Linked DNA regions of Homo sapiens: region 2 is linked to region 1. Evidence: promoter capture Hi-C in 16 types of primary human blood cells and fetal thymus (Javierre and others, 2016). All regions are on one chromosome and are shown on one strand. Each heading gives the region's core, a stretch centred on a gene start or on the middle of the fragment in contact. The rest is flanking DNA. Distances are from core to core; before and after follow the strand shown. Region 1 holds the start of NUS1 (NUS1 dehydrodolichyl diphosphate synthase subunit). Region 2 overlaps ROS1 (ROS proto-oncogene 1, receptor tyrosine kinase).

Region 1 (7,570 bases), core at 1,443-3,942:
AACTTGGCTTAGCTTACTTCTTCCTTTTAATTACTAATCATTTTTCTTTTAGCAACTATGACACAGGATACTTCTGAATCACATCAGCAATTTAAACACAGGACTTGCAGAAACAAGGAAATGTGGCAACATTATAGTCTGTACTAGTAGGCACGGTCATCAAGTCAAACAATTTAGCTATACATTTTCCTTCCCTACTGGAAGATAAAGATACTTGCTTTAAAAGAATCACCTGGCTGTACATCAATCCACCACGTTGCTTAATGCCTTTATGTCCACTTTTGCTTCACCTATTTTTTTCCCCAAGCAAAACTGGTTGCATTGGTTTAGGCATGGATTGTGTCATCTCCTAACAGTCTCATGATTTCTATTGGTCTGCTGAGTTCTTTAGCAAGTTCCATAAATGTCAGTCTCTGAATATATCAAACTTTACCCTATAGGGCAAATCATCATTTGGTGATGACAGGCTACTGCGTCATCATGTTCCTTGCGGGCTGCAGGAAAGATGATAGGGCAATCAGAGATCAGCCTGTAAGCGTTACTGTCTGGCCTATGCCTTCCCTTTCTGACAAAACCCTGCACTTAAATTTACCAATCTGACAAAGATGTATGCCTCTCTAGAGCACACAGGTAATTTATTGAACAGAGAATAAAACTTTTGTTTTCTTCCCTTCATACCAATACTCTTAAATCATTCTTCTCACATCTTTAAAGAAATTCCAATGCTTTCAAGATCTGATTGAAAATCAAACCTGACATCCCAAACCTGAGTATTCCTCAACTTATCTCCTACCTATTCTTCAAGGTCCTGCTTAAATCCCACCTCCACTGCATGAACTTCTCAAGTTCCTTCATTCACAATTTCTCTCCTCTCTTCTCACAATAGTAATTTTACTCTCAACACTTCTTGTTATTAACCATGTCAAATATGTGAGTGTGTGCCTACCTCCTAACAAGCCTGAGAGTCCATGGAATTAAATGCAAGATTCCAAGGAATATGCCTAGCACAGTGCTTTAGGTTTGTAGCTACCCAATAAGTACTGAATTTTTGTACTTACAAAAACTCCCTATGGTGAAATTCATTCCCTCAATCAAAACATATGAGAGGACAATTCTATCAAGTACTGTGTTGGGCACTGATGATGAAGGATCACAAACCATCCCAGCCTTCCAAGACAGAAAGGGACCATTTTCTTTTCTGCCTATCCAATCTCTCACATATTTTTCATAAACCCAGTTCAAATACCACCTGACCCCCACCGCTCCCATTTGCAGTACCTATCACACAGCCCATGCCTAAGTCCTCTATAGCCTCACTGCGACTTAAGAACAGCGCCTGGAAGCTCTCTTAAAGAAACAGTGTGGTGTAACCAAAGGCAAAGATTGTGAAAAAGCACAGAATGGCTAAAATTCCAATATCCTCATTCCGATCTTTGTGGCCCCATTACGATCTTGTGGCCTTGGGCAAATCAGTTAATGTTTTTAAACCTTGGCAAGGGTATACAAATACCATCTACATTACTGCAGTATTATAACGAATAAGAGATTTTTTATTTATTTTTATTTATTTATTTACTTATTTGAGACAGAGTTTCGCTCTTGTTGCCCAGGCTGGAGTGCAGTGGCGCGATCTCGGCTCACCACAACCTCCGCCTCCCGGGTTCCAGCGATTCTCCTGCCTCAGCCTCCCTAGTAGCTGGGATTACAGGCATATGCCACCACGCCCGACTAAACTTGTATTTTTAGTAGAAACGGGGTTTCTCCATGTTAGTCAGGCTGGTCTCGAACTCCCGACCTCAGGTGATCCGTCCGCCTCGGCCTCCCAAAGTGCTGGGATTACAGGCATGAGCCACCGCGCCCGGCCAAGGGATATTTTTAAAATGTTAAAAAGCTACTGAGTCAAATCCAGAGAATTAGTAGGTGTTCAATAAAGCTGATCTCCCTTCCTCGAAAGCGCTAGCGCTGTGATTTGCAGAGAGGCCGCGGCAACTCGTGCCATGGGCACCACCCGCCAGACCAGCGGTCTAGCGGTCCAAGACGCCTCGGCCACCCCCCACCACCGCACCGGGCCTCACCTTGGTGGTCGTAGACGCTAATGTAGGAGATGCCCACGGCCATACACCACACCACGAGGCTCGCGATGTCCGAGAAGCTGGGTTCCTGCTCCACCTCGGTGATCACCAGGCCCATATGCACAGGCAGCTTCTCCAAGGAACGACCGTCCGCGCGCCAGCGCATCCGGTGGTGTGCGGCTGCCAGGCACGACCCCCCGCGCGGGTGCCGGTGGTGACGGCGGTTCCTGCCGACTGCCGGGGGCTTGCGGAGCGTGAAGCCGAGCGGCGCTAGGACCGCGGCAGAGGCGGCGCGGCAGCAGCGCCGCCAGATCCAGTTCCAGGTGCCGAACCGAACGCGGAGCCAGGAGGTGAGCGTGCGGTGCAGACAGAGCAGCGCGTGCAGCACCCGCCACACCAGCTCGTACAGCCCCGTCATACTCTTGTGGCCCTCAGACACCCCCTCTCCCTCCCGCCCACTCCCGCAGCGCGACGGCTTTTTATCCGCCCCTGCGGCCGGCGCGGGCCATCGCTCCGCGTCCCCCCGCCCCCCGAGCCCGAACCCCTTTCCACTGCCAACACCTCACCTCGCCCCCGCCGCCATCTTCCTCCTCCCTTGGCAGCCCCGCCCCCAGTAGTACATGGACAGTTCCGATTGGCCAGCGTGGAATTCTGACGCGGCTTCTGGGTCCGAGAACGTGGCCCGTTCCGGCGCAGTGAGGGAAGGCGCACGCCTGCGAACTAGCCGGGCCGATACCGCGGGCGCCCCCTGGTCGCGTGGAGGGCGATGAGCGAACGACCCGGGACTTGTCTGAATGGGACCCCAGCAAGGCACACGTGGTCTTCAATGCGATGGGCGCTTCCAGGGGACCCGGCGTCCCTTGGGTCCAGGAAGTCTTATACTGTCTCCTCTCACGGCCCCGACAGAAACGGTTTCTGAGGAGTAGAAGTGTCCTAAGTGGATTGGAAATTACAAATGCCGGAAAGAACCTAGGGATGGAAAGCAGCCCTCAGTAAGTGTTGATGCTGGGAATCCACCAGGGTTTCCAAAAGTGTCCTCAAAGGCTGGAGTGATCCTGCTACTGTCCTTTATTCAGCCTCCCGGCTGAGGCTGGGAGCGAGGCTCTTTAGCCATGTTCCTGAAACACCCCTCTACCCATGTCATTCTCATCTAAGGTATCCTTTCCTGGCTGTACATTGCTTAATAGAGGCTCTACAGCTTGGCAGTCCAGTCACTTAATTCTTTTTTTTTTTTTTTTTTTTTATTCGGCAAGACTTTGACCAACCGCCGTGGGTTAGGTTTACAGTGGGGAAAAAAAATAGAAATTGTGCCTGACTTCAATGACCGCCACTATTTGAAGCAAACTGCCCATCCAAGCCTTATCATCCCCTTTAACACCCTAATGTTTCTGTCCATGTGGACTTCGACGTGGTCCTCTAGAATGGTTTTGTACTTCCCCGCGGTAAGTCTGTACTGTCTTTGCCCTTTTTGTTCAAGCTCTTCTCCTGAATTCCTGATTCCCGACTTGGTATTGCCGACATTCCAACCCATTTCTCAAGGTTTATCCTACATGCTACATCCTCTATCATCATATATATGTGTGTGTGCAACAATAATATTTATATTATTTGCATTTATATTTATATAAGTATATATATAAAGATTAGGGAGGTATTACAAAAATGCAACTGTACACATACACACGTATACACACATATTTACACACGTGTGTGTGTGTAAACAGTTGCGTTTTTGTAATACCTACCTATTCTTTGTTCGCTAAAGCCTCTTTTTCCCCCTGGGAAACATCTGTTCACGTCTTGGCTATGTGACTTAATTTTTCTAACATTGTCACTTTTTCAACTAGTCTCATTTTGGTTTCTAAGACTCATTTAACTTTACTTTAAAAGTTGAATCTCATGTCCATCTCCCTTTCGCAGTGCAATTTTCCTCCCTTTGGCAGTGCAGCCTGAAGAACTGAGGGCTGGGCACCAGGCACACCCTTCACACACTTCTTTCTCTCCAGGTCTCCTCTGCGGTAGCTCCTCTGATGATGGACAAAGAAGGAGAGGCGAAAGGCCATGATCAGGGAAGCCTACAGTCTTCTTCCTCACTGCCCATTGCTGTAGTTTATGCAGCTACATGATGCTTGTTAAGGAAGCTCCCTAGACACCAGTGTCCCATTGAGATTTGGCCACGTATTCTGCAGACCCCACCCCACCCCCCATGCCGACTATGTTGCCACATTTCTCTACCGTACTCATTTCTTTGCCCCAATGTCTATCCGTTCTGACAAGATTAAAGACATCAATCTCATGTTCCCGTGGCCTGCTCTCAGGTGTGCAGGCACAAACAGGCTCTATCTTCTGTATTTCTTTTTTCCTTTTTTTTTGAAACGGAGTCTCGCTCAGTCGCCCAGGCTGGAGGGCAGTGGTGCGATCTCAGCTCACTGCAGGCTCCGCCTCCCGGGTTCACGCCGTTCTCCTGCCTCAGCCTCCCGAATAGCTGGGACTACAGGTGCCCGCCACTACGCCCGGCTAATTTTTTGTGTGTTTTTAGTAGAGGCGGGGTTTCACCATGTTGGTCTTGAACTCCTGACCTCAGGTGATCCGCCCGCCTTGGCCTCCCAAAGTGCTGGGATTACAGGCGTGAGCCACTGCGTCCGGCCCCTGTATTTCTTTGAATTGCAAACTTAAGCAAAAGGATTCTAGCCACATGTCCATCTGACACACTCACATGCAGATCCTGGCGTCTCTCCCCAGACATTTGCTTGCTTTCCTCCTAGAGTTTCCTCCTAGTAGCAGGTCCCCTAGCTCCCAGGATGTTCAGCCTCCTAAAGAGTGGTGGGGCGGCGGTACCCACTTTTCTTCTCTGTCAGCTGTCAGTAGGCTAGGGATGGAGGGTCTCATACAGAACAGTTCTCTGGGGGCCTTGAACCAACACAGTTCTTCCCCTTTTCTCACTTGTAGTTCTCGAGAATAACTGTAGAATGTGTTGGAATGCAATATACTATAGACAAGGAGGAACTGACCAGAACAGCCCAGGCTCTGTTCCAGTCTCTTCTAGAAATAGGATGTCCTTCAACTAGTACTAGCCCAGCACATCCCATTGCCCTGTAGTAAAAACTGAGAGCAGACTGCTTTCTGGGGTCCCTTAGTTGCGGTGCAAGCAGTGCACGAGCAGATGAGACGCCATCCTCCCTAAGAAGTTTTCCTCGGCCTTGGGAGATATGGTCATTATGACATGCTTCTGTTGTCCCTTGCTGCCTGTCTGTAAGTAATAAACCCACTTCGTGTAACTTGTGTGTGAGTGTTCTGCGTCACTGGACACTGGATATAGGAAAAGTGCAGTCCAAAATGCAGTGGGCTGAACCGGTAACCAGTGCACAGTGAACCTGCTTTGCATCTGGTGGTTGCTGTCAACTTCAGGCTGCTTCACTGTTCTTAGAAGGAGGTGGACTCAGTGCCTTTTGTTCTCAGCCACAATTCTGGAATAACAGGAAAGCCACACTGGATGTCTTGCTCTGGACATACTTGGAATCTTAAGTTTATGGAGTTCTCTCTCTTCTAAAGATTTTCTTCTTTTGTCATTTCAAAAAAGCAGTAAATGTGGCACATTTAGGAACTTAGGGGTTCTGAATATAATGTTTGGATTTCTTAAATACCATTTAACCTTCCACCCCAAAATTTTATGAAGCACAGGAAAATACAGAAAGAGTTATCCAGCCTCAGACTCTTAAGCCCAAAACACTATGGGGATGGTATTTCATTTACTTTTCAGTTTACAAAATGCTTTACATTATCTTAATCCTTACGACCACTGCTACTTTTACTGTCTCCATAGTTTTACCTTTTCCAGAATGTTACACAGTTGGAATCACACAGTATGTAGCCTTTTCTTATTGCCTTATGTCACTTACTAATATGCATTTAAGCTTGTCCATGTCTTTTCATGATTTCATACCTCATTTCTTTTTAGTGCTGAATAATATCCCATTGCTGGATGTACCACATTCCATTGCTGATGTACCACAGAATTTATCTGTTCACCTACTGAAGGACAACTTGGTGGCTTCCAAGTTTTAGCAATTATAAATAAAACTGCTATAAATATCAATGTGCAGGTTTTGTGTAGATATAGGTTTTCAACTTATTTGGATAAGTACCAAGGAGAAGGCCAGGCATGGCTGACTCCTATAATCCCAGCACTTTGGGAGGCCAAAGCAGACTGAGCGCTTGAGCTCAGGAATTTGAGACCAGCCTGGGCAACATGGTGAAAACCTGACTCTACCAAAAATACAAAAAATTAGCTGGGCATGGTGGCATGTGCCTGTGGTCCCAGCTACTTGGGAGGCTGAGGTGGGAGGATTGCTTGAGCCCGGGAGGTTGAGGTTGCAGTGAGCTGAGATCACACCACTGGATTCCTGCCTCGGTGACAGAGTGAGACCCCATCTCTGAAAAAAAAAGAAAAAAAATACCAAGGACCACAATTGCTGAATCATACAGCGAGAGTGTGTTCAGTTTTGCAAGAAACTGCCAAAATGTCTTCCAAAGTGTCTATACTATTTTGCATTTCCACCAGCAACAAATGAGTTCATATTGTTCCACATCCTTGCCAGCATTTTGTGTTGTTAGTGTTTTGGATTTCAGTTGTAGTGTTTTGAATTTTGGCTGTTCTAATAGGCGTATAGCAGTATTTCATTGTTTGAATTTGCAATTCCCTAATGATTTATGATGTTGGTATCTTTCTGTATGCTTATTTGCCATCTGTCCATCTTCTTTGTTGAGGTGTCTGTTCATTTCTGTTAAAACCCCATTTTAAAATGAGGTCGTTTGTTTTCTCATTGTTGAGTTTTAAGAGTTCTTTGTACATTTTGGATAATAGTCCTTTATCAGATATGTCTTTTGCAAGTATTTTCTCCCAGTCTGTGGCTGGTCTTCTCATTCTCTTGGCAGTATCTTTTGCAGAACAGAAGTTTAAATTTTAATAGAATCAAACTTACCAATTTTTTTTCACATTTTTTGTGCCTTTGGTAGTTGTATAAGTCTGTTCTCACACTGCTAATAAAGACATACCTGAGACCAGGTAATTTATAAAGGAAAGTGGTTTAGTTGACTCACAGTTCCACATGGCTGGGGAAGCCTCATAATCATGGCACAAGGTGAATGAGGAGCAAAGTCACGTCTTAAATGGTGGCAGGCAAGAGAGCTTGCGCTGGGGAACTCCCATTTATAAACACAGATGTTGTGAGACTTAATCACTACCAAAAGAACATTATGGGGGAAATCATTCCCATAATCTAATTATTTTTACCTAGCCCTGCTCTTGACACATGAGGATTATTACAGTATAAGGTGAGATTTGGGTGGGTACACAGCCAAACCATATCATTCCACCCCAGCCCCTCTCAAGTCTCATGTCCTCACATTTGAAAACCAATCATGCCTTCCCAATAGTCTCCCAAAGTCTTAACTCATTTCAGCATTAACTCAAAAGTCCACAGCCCCAAGTCTCATCT
Region 2 (7,570 bases), core at 3,791-6,290, 330 kb after region 1:
TCCAGCAGAAAAAAAATCACTAAGGATATACTGATGAACTCAATAACACCATCAATTAATTGGCTGTAATGGACATCTATCTACTATTAATAATTTTTCCAACAACAGCAGAATAAACATTCTTCTCAAGCTCACATGGAACATTCACCAAGACAGAACATAAAATACACTTCAACAAATTTAAAAGAATAGAAATCATACAATATCTGTCCTCAGACTACAATGCCATTTAACTAGAACTCAATAACTGAAAGATAGCTGGAAAATCTCAGAACACTTGGAGATTAAACAACGTATTTCTAAATAACAAATGGGTAAAAGAAGAAATCTCAAATTAAAAATATTTTGAACTAAAAATGAAAACAAAACATCAAAACTTACGGGAATCAGTAAAATCAGTGCTTAGAGGGAAGTTTACAGCACTGACTGCATGTATTAAAAAAATAGATCTAAAATTATTTAAGCTTTTACTTTAGGAAACTAGAAAAAGAAGAGTAAATTAAGTCCCAAATAATAATAAGAAACAAAACTAAAACAAAAGAAAAAATAAAAAGGAAGTATAGTAGAAATCAATGAAATTGAAACAGGAAATCAATAGAGAAAAATCAATGAAGCCAAAAACTGGTTCTTTGAAAAGATAAATAAAATTGATAAGCCTCTAGCCAGGCTAAGAAAAAAAGAGAGTGGATGCAAATTGCTAATAGTAGAAATGAAGGCGGGGACATCTCTGTAGAACCCATGGAGATTAAAAGGATAATCAAGGAATACTATTAACAACTCTATGCTCACAAATTTAATAACCTAGATGAAATGGACCAATTCTTTTAAAGACACAATATGCCAAAACTCACAGAAGAAGAAATAGACAATCTGAATATGTCCACATCTATTAAATAAGTGGAATCAATAATTAATAGCCTTCTGAAATAGAAAGCACCTGGGCCAGATGGATTCAATGATGCATTCTATCAAACATTTATGGGAAAATTATACCATCTCTACAATGTCTTTCAGAAAATTGAACCAGAGGGCCTACTTCCAATTAGGCCAATGAATGAGTTTATTCTAGGCCAGAATTACCCTAAAACCAAAACTAGACAAATATATTACAAGAAAAGAAAATTTTAGACCGGTGTCTCTCTTGAATATTGCAAGAATTGCAAAAGTCCTGAACAAAATATTAGCAAATCAAATCGAGCAATATATTAAAATAGTTTTATATCACAGTCAAGTGGGATTTATCCCAGCTATGCAAGTTTGAGTCAACATTTGAAAATCAATTAATGTAGTCCACTATATCAACAGACTAAAGAGGAAAAATCAGGCGGTCACATTGATAGATGCAGAAAATGCTTTTGACAAAATTCAACACGGATTCAGGATGAAAAATCCTCAGCAAACTAAGAATAGGGGTAACTTCCTTGAGAAAGAACATGTATAAAAAAACTTGTTGTTAACATCATTACTTAATAGTGAGAAATTAGAGGCTTTCTCACTAAATCAGAAACAAGGTAAGGATGTTCCCTCTCCCAATTTCTTTTCAACACTGCAGTGGAAGTCACAGCATGCAACAATACAAGAAAAGGTATACAATACAAGAAAAGGTATACTGATTGGGAATGAAGAAATAACGCTGTCTTTGTTCACAGATGACATGATCATCTATGTAGAAAATCTGAAAGAATTGACAAAAAGACTCCTGGAACTCATAAGTGATTATAGCAAGTTTGCAGGACACGAGGTTAATATACTAAACTCAATCACTTTCCTGTATACCAGCAATGGACAAGTGGAATTAGAAATTAAACACACAGTATCATTTACATTAACACCCACAGAAAATGAAATACTTAGGTATAAATCTAACAGCATATGCACAAAAATCTATATGAGAAAAACTATAAAACCCTGATGAAAGAAATCAAAGTGCTAAATAAGTATAGAGATATTCCATGTCATAGATAGGAAGACTCAATATTGTCAAGATGTCATTTCTTCTCAACTTATCTATAGATTCAATAAAATCCCAATGAAAATCCCAGCTAAAGTTATTTTGTAGATATTAACAAACTGATTCTAAAGTTTATATGGAGAGGCAAAAGACCTAGAATAGGTAGCTATCACAGTATTGAAGGAGAAGAACAAAGTTGGGGAAGGCTGATATCAACTATATGACATTCTGGGAAAGTAAAAAACTATGTAGACAGTAATAAGATCACTAGTTGCGAGAAGGCTGGGGGAAGAAGTGGCGAATAGACAGAGCAGAGAGGACTTTGAAGGCAGTGGAACTATTCTATGTGATACTATAATGGTGGATACAGCTCATTACACATTTGTCCAAACCCGTAAAATGTACAATACAAAACTGAACTCTAATGTAAACTATAGACTTTGGGTAATAATGATGTCATTGTAGGCTCATTGATTGTAACAAATGTACTACTTTGGTAGGGGTATTGATAATGGGGGAAAGTTATGCATGTGTGGAGAAAAGGAGTATCTGGGAAATCTTGGTACATTCCTCTCAATTTTGCTGTGAATCTAAAACTGACTAAAAAATAAAGTCTTACCAAAAAAAAAAGACGTCCATGCAGTATCTGAAGTTGAACGACACACACACATATCCTCCTCCCAGCCACATACACAAACACGCTCCAAAATGAAGTCCCAAGAGTGGCATGAGTTTTTTTTTTAAACTGGAACTCATTAAGAGTATGATTAATACTCATTATTTTCTTTAAAAAATGGAGTCTATTTTATGTTGCTAGTTTCTAGGTACATTATTAAGAATACTTTACCTCCATCTGCTGGAAATTTTAAGCAATTACAAGTTATCTTGGTCCTTTTTTTCTGAAGGTATTCAATTATCTTCAAAATGTATGGGATAAAAAAAAAAATGTAAGGGAAAAACCTGTCTTTCTGTCCTGAATAATGTTTCTGACACTTCAACATGTCATATTATATCAATTAAATAAAAGAACGACAAAATTACCAATGACTTTTGAATTAGATAATTGCTCTGATTGCTCACATGTGTATCCCATTCTCTGTTCAGATCAGAAATCAGTACAAACTGAATATATTGGATAAATATTGGTTGAACTGAAGAGTGGTTCATCTTGTAACTTTAGTAAGGTTATCCATCTCTAAACCCCCATACTTTCCAAATGTCCTCAAACTTAGGTTCACAGTGCCCTTGACACTGTTGTTGGAGATTTTCGATGTACTTCTAATTTTAAACATTTTTTCCTGCATTTTGGAATTCATATTTGGAATTCCCAGACCAGACCAGCATTATTTTCTCTAACTTTTCATTTTAGTCTCAGTAATGATGATAGTAATAGCTAACATTTATTTAATGTTCTTACCATGTGCTAGGGATAGAGTGATATATAAATATCTGTAAAGCAGGCCATTGTCTCTGTTTACAGAAGAGCTGGAGTAACCTTCCCAAGACAAAAAAGTTAGCAAGTGAAGGAGCTGGCTTCATCAAGTTTTTGTCACTTAGACATTTACCCCCTAATTTTCTTACTTGCTGAATGCAAAGGTTGTATTTTATATGTGGCTAATATGAATTCATAAGGATCGACAACACATACTAAATACCTAATATATGTCAGGCACCCTCCTGGGGCTCTGGTGGAACAAAGATAATTCAAGCACAGTCTCAGCCAAAGATAGTTACATTCTAGTGCTAGATGAAGAAAAGAAAGCAGCAAAAGAAAACCAAAACCAAAATCACATGTGGCTAGTGCACTGGTAGAAGAACACGTGAAGTGGAGTGAGGACAGAGAGGAGATGTCCTTCACCTGGAATAGGAAGGCAGAAAGGGCTTCCCAGGAAAAATGATGCATGAATTGAGGCTTAAGTAAGGTTAGGCAGATGGGGAAGATCATTCCAACCTGAAGAGACTACCTATGTGAAGGGTTGGAGGGGTAGAAGTCCTGCAGTGTGTAGATAGTGTACTGTGGTTAGAGTGAAGGATGGCTTTGCATAGCAGAGACTGGATATGCGGGCAGGAGCCAGATTGCACAGTGCCACGCACAATGAGTTAAAGAGTTGGCTAACTGGTGTAAGATTGTTAGATTTCATATTAAAATCATATTTGGAGTTATTTGCATATTATGTAATTATGCTACATTTTTAGGTGATGTTTTACATAAAGACTGAGAGTGAATAGGTCAAGAAGTTGTGTTCAGCTGCAAGTGACAGATCTGCGATTTTTCGAGGCTTAAGCCTGCGGTATGGTTGCGCTACTGCACTGGTCTAGAACAGACCATTTCCATTGTAGTCTCTGTGACTGGGGCTCCCTGGAGTTGTGCAGCGTGCAAGGTGTTTGGTTGTAAGCGGTGGCCAGGGAGCTCCACAATGCCATCAATCACCTGGACTTGATCTTTCCCCAAACATCCTTAGTGAGTCCTTTATTCAATTCTCACAAGATGGCTGCCGCCCCTCTTGCATAGTGTCCGCCTCCTGGGTTGGGGGAGGGTGAAGGACAGAGGTGCGCCACAGTGATAAGCACATCTGACTAACCAGACCGTGTCACATGATTGTCTGGGCTGCAATCAAACTTCAGAAACAGTTTTTCCTCCCAGCATACTGCCCTGAACAATATCAGATATATATGAACTTGAAGAAAAGGAGAGGACATTGGGTAGACTGTAGCAGTACATACTACACATACTACACACAGTATCAAGCTGCAGCCATTTTTGTTTCTTCAAAGAGAATATTATTTCAAATCATTTTCATATTTATGTTTTCAAGCAAAAGTTATGTATGCTCTACAAATTTCTTTCTAAGCTTTGATATTATTCTTGTTAAAAATCTGCTTTTCCTCTCATATATATAGTATAGATATTTAATCTTTTGGTTTCTTCTTATTTTAGATAAAGCGTTTCTGTCTCTAGCTTCAGACACTGTGGAACCAACTATACTTAATGCCACTAACACTAGCCTCACAATCAGATTACCTCTGGCCAAGACAAACCTCACATGGTATGGCATCACCAGCCCTACTCCAACATACCTGGTTTATTATGCAGAAGTTAATGACAGGAAAAACAGCTCTGACTTGAAATATAGAATTCTGGTAAGATTGGAACTAGTGGTCTTTGTCTTTTCACAAGATGTTCTTTTTTGATATAAAATTATGAGCCATAGTAAAGTATTTCCTATATGTTCTGAAATGGACTAGTACGCAACTTTTTTACAGCTAATGATTCATCAAAACATATTGTGTTCTAGTTTTCTTGACTGGGAGTAAGTTAAGCTTCAAGGAAGTATATCAACTCTTGCCCATTGATGGATTGCCATGGTAACCGTTTTCTGAGTGTCCAGAAAGAATTGGGTTTATTCCCCTCCCTGATTATCTAATTATCCTCAGAGAGAATGATAGAGAATTATTTTTGCAGCCTATGGAGCAGACTGAAGATTGAAGAGTAAGAAATGAACTGGACGGAAAGAACATTGCCTTATACCTCTTCTCCACAGCATTTATCTAATATAAAAATTGTACATTATATTTTGTCTTTTGTTTCCTATGTGCAGAGAAATATACTGCTATGCAGATACTGTTTTTAGTCATCATTGTATGCCTAGCACCTAGCACAGTTAGTGGCACTGTGTAGGCATTCACTAACTATTTCTTGAATGAATTGGCACTATTCATTCAATCATTGAAATGATGAAATGTATTCATTAGTATTTCAGTTGTCTTAGTGATGGAATCACATATATCCAATATTTTGCTTTGTGCTTGGCTTTATTTAGCCTGTTCAAAAGGTGAAATTGACTAACTGTTGGATGTTAAACACTATATGTTTTCCCATAAAGTGTATGTGATTTTTCATTCCTTCCTTAATTTTGTCTAATTAACCCTTTTTACACATTTCTAAAATAAGTAATTTCAGATAGATCATTTGGCTGGCCAAGATTGGACTTGGCAGCACTGGTCATGTCTGTTATTAAATTTAATCTATCTTATTGTCTTCTCATTGATTAACAGTGGTCTAAGACAGTGGTTCTCAACCTTGGCGGCACATCGAAGCTTTAAAAAAAAAAAACAAAACACTCTGCATCTAGGCTTCACCCCAGATAACTCAATCAGAATCTCTGGCAATAGAACCCAGGCATAGTAGTTTCTTAAAACTTCCCAGATGATAGCAAAGTATAAACAAAGTTGAGAACCATTGGTCTAAGGAAAGTCTTTTTACTCTCTTAAACTTTATTTCTAAGAGTGATTAGATACTATAAAAATATTTTATTGTATTCACATATGTGTCACATGTTTTCTACCATCTTGCTGAATTTCTAATACAATGTTAATGAAATAGTGTCCTCTTCTAGGAATTTAACTTCCCATGTGAAACAATTTATGCCACAAAACCAACTGAAGGCTACCAATCATTTGGTATTTATTCTTGGAAACATTGAACAACTCAGGTCTGGGTAGATTGGACAGTGGTATTACCATTAATAATCCAGAATTTAAAATAAATTAATTTTTTTGAGCCTTTAACTTTGTTCTCTCTTTGATTAAATAATTTCTACCAATTTGTATAAAATGTTAAAAATAAGATGTTGATTTTTAAAAAATCAATTACAGGAATTTCAGGACAGTATAGCTCTTATTGAAGATTTACAACCATTTTCAACATACATGATACAGATAGCTGTAAAAAATTATTATTCAGATCCTTTGGAACATTTACCACCAGGAAAAGAGATTTGGGGAAAAACTAAAAATGGAGGTAAGTTATGGGCTTGTTGTGGGTTTCTCAAGCAGAATATTGTGATATATGTGCTGTGTATGTTGATGTTTATTTTTTAAAATCTGAATGCGAAGTAATTTTAGTAAGCTTTTTTAAGTTTAATAAGAAAAATGTGTTTGTAGAAAACTTTGACCTGACCCTTACTCTAACCCCTGAAGCTAACTAATAATATTCTATTAAAATAGAAAGCAACTAGGAGGTAAAACATTGAAATCAATATTGTTTGACCAAGAAACACATTATTTGGTCTCACCACACAGTGTCACTTTTTCCAGATACTCATAGGTTTCTGTACATGTGGTGAGCTATAGAAAAACCAAGCTTTTTTTCTATGTGAATTTTACTGAGGCCTGAGCTGTAAAGTTATGCAACAGTATAGCCTTAAAGAAAATAGGTCTGAAAAGGTTTTCTAAGAGCTGATGAGGTGGTGATTATTATGAGGTGATGACGTTTATTTCAGATGTCTCTGATGATATTCACAAAACTCACCCAAATTGGGTTATTCCCCGTTGGCCATATCCTTGAGCTGGAGTCAGAGAATGATTTGGTCACTGGGCAAAAATAAGTGGGAGCCTTTTAGGCAGTCTGTTAACCTACGATTATAGAAGAGGCTGACTTTCTTTCTGGACATGTGTTATTTATTCTGCTCATACCACATGATTACTCTTCAACCCAAACTCCATTACTTCTTTCCATCTTTCAGTGCTATTGCAGCATCCTTTATCATTCCTTGCTATTTATTTCAGTACCAGAGGCAGTGCAGCTCATTAATACAACTGTGCGGTCAGACACCAGCC

Evidence for each region. Contacts are between HindIII fragments. The CHiCAGO score rates a contact against its expected background, and 5 or more counts as called.
Region 2: a contact is called between a fragment that was not itself captured here and the fragment with the promoter of NUS1 in region 1, in 1 of 17 cell types (endothelial precursors). The highest score is 5.9, in endothelial precursors.

The regions. Positions count from the first base shown.
Region 1 is chr6:117,670,591-117,678,160 of GRCh38, reverse strand. It overlaps NUS1 (NUS1 dehydrodolichyl diphosphate synthase subunit), which reads right to left and starts at 2,692. Exons shown (of 5, transcript NM_138459.5): 1 at 2,076-2,692. The coding sequence starts at 2,490. It overlaps LOC101927919 (a long non-coding RNA gene), which reads left to right and starts at 2,877. Exons shown (of 3, transcript NR_110854.1): 1 at 2,877-3,064; 2 at 3,326-3,514; 3 at 4,079-5,348. The HindIII fragment of the contact is 6,476 bases long and covers 1-5,988 here.
Region 2 is chr6:117,341,582-117,349,151 of GRCh38, reverse strand. It overlaps ROS1 (ROS proto-oncogene 1, receptor tyrosine kinase), which reads left to right. Exons shown (of 44, transcript NM_001378902.1): 28 at 4,890-5,092; 29 at 6,608-6,752; 30 at 7,520-7,570. Among named protein-coding and RNA genes, the nearest start is that of VGLL2, 80 kb to the right of the region's middle. The HindIII fragment of the contact is 469 bases long and covers 4,806-5,274 here.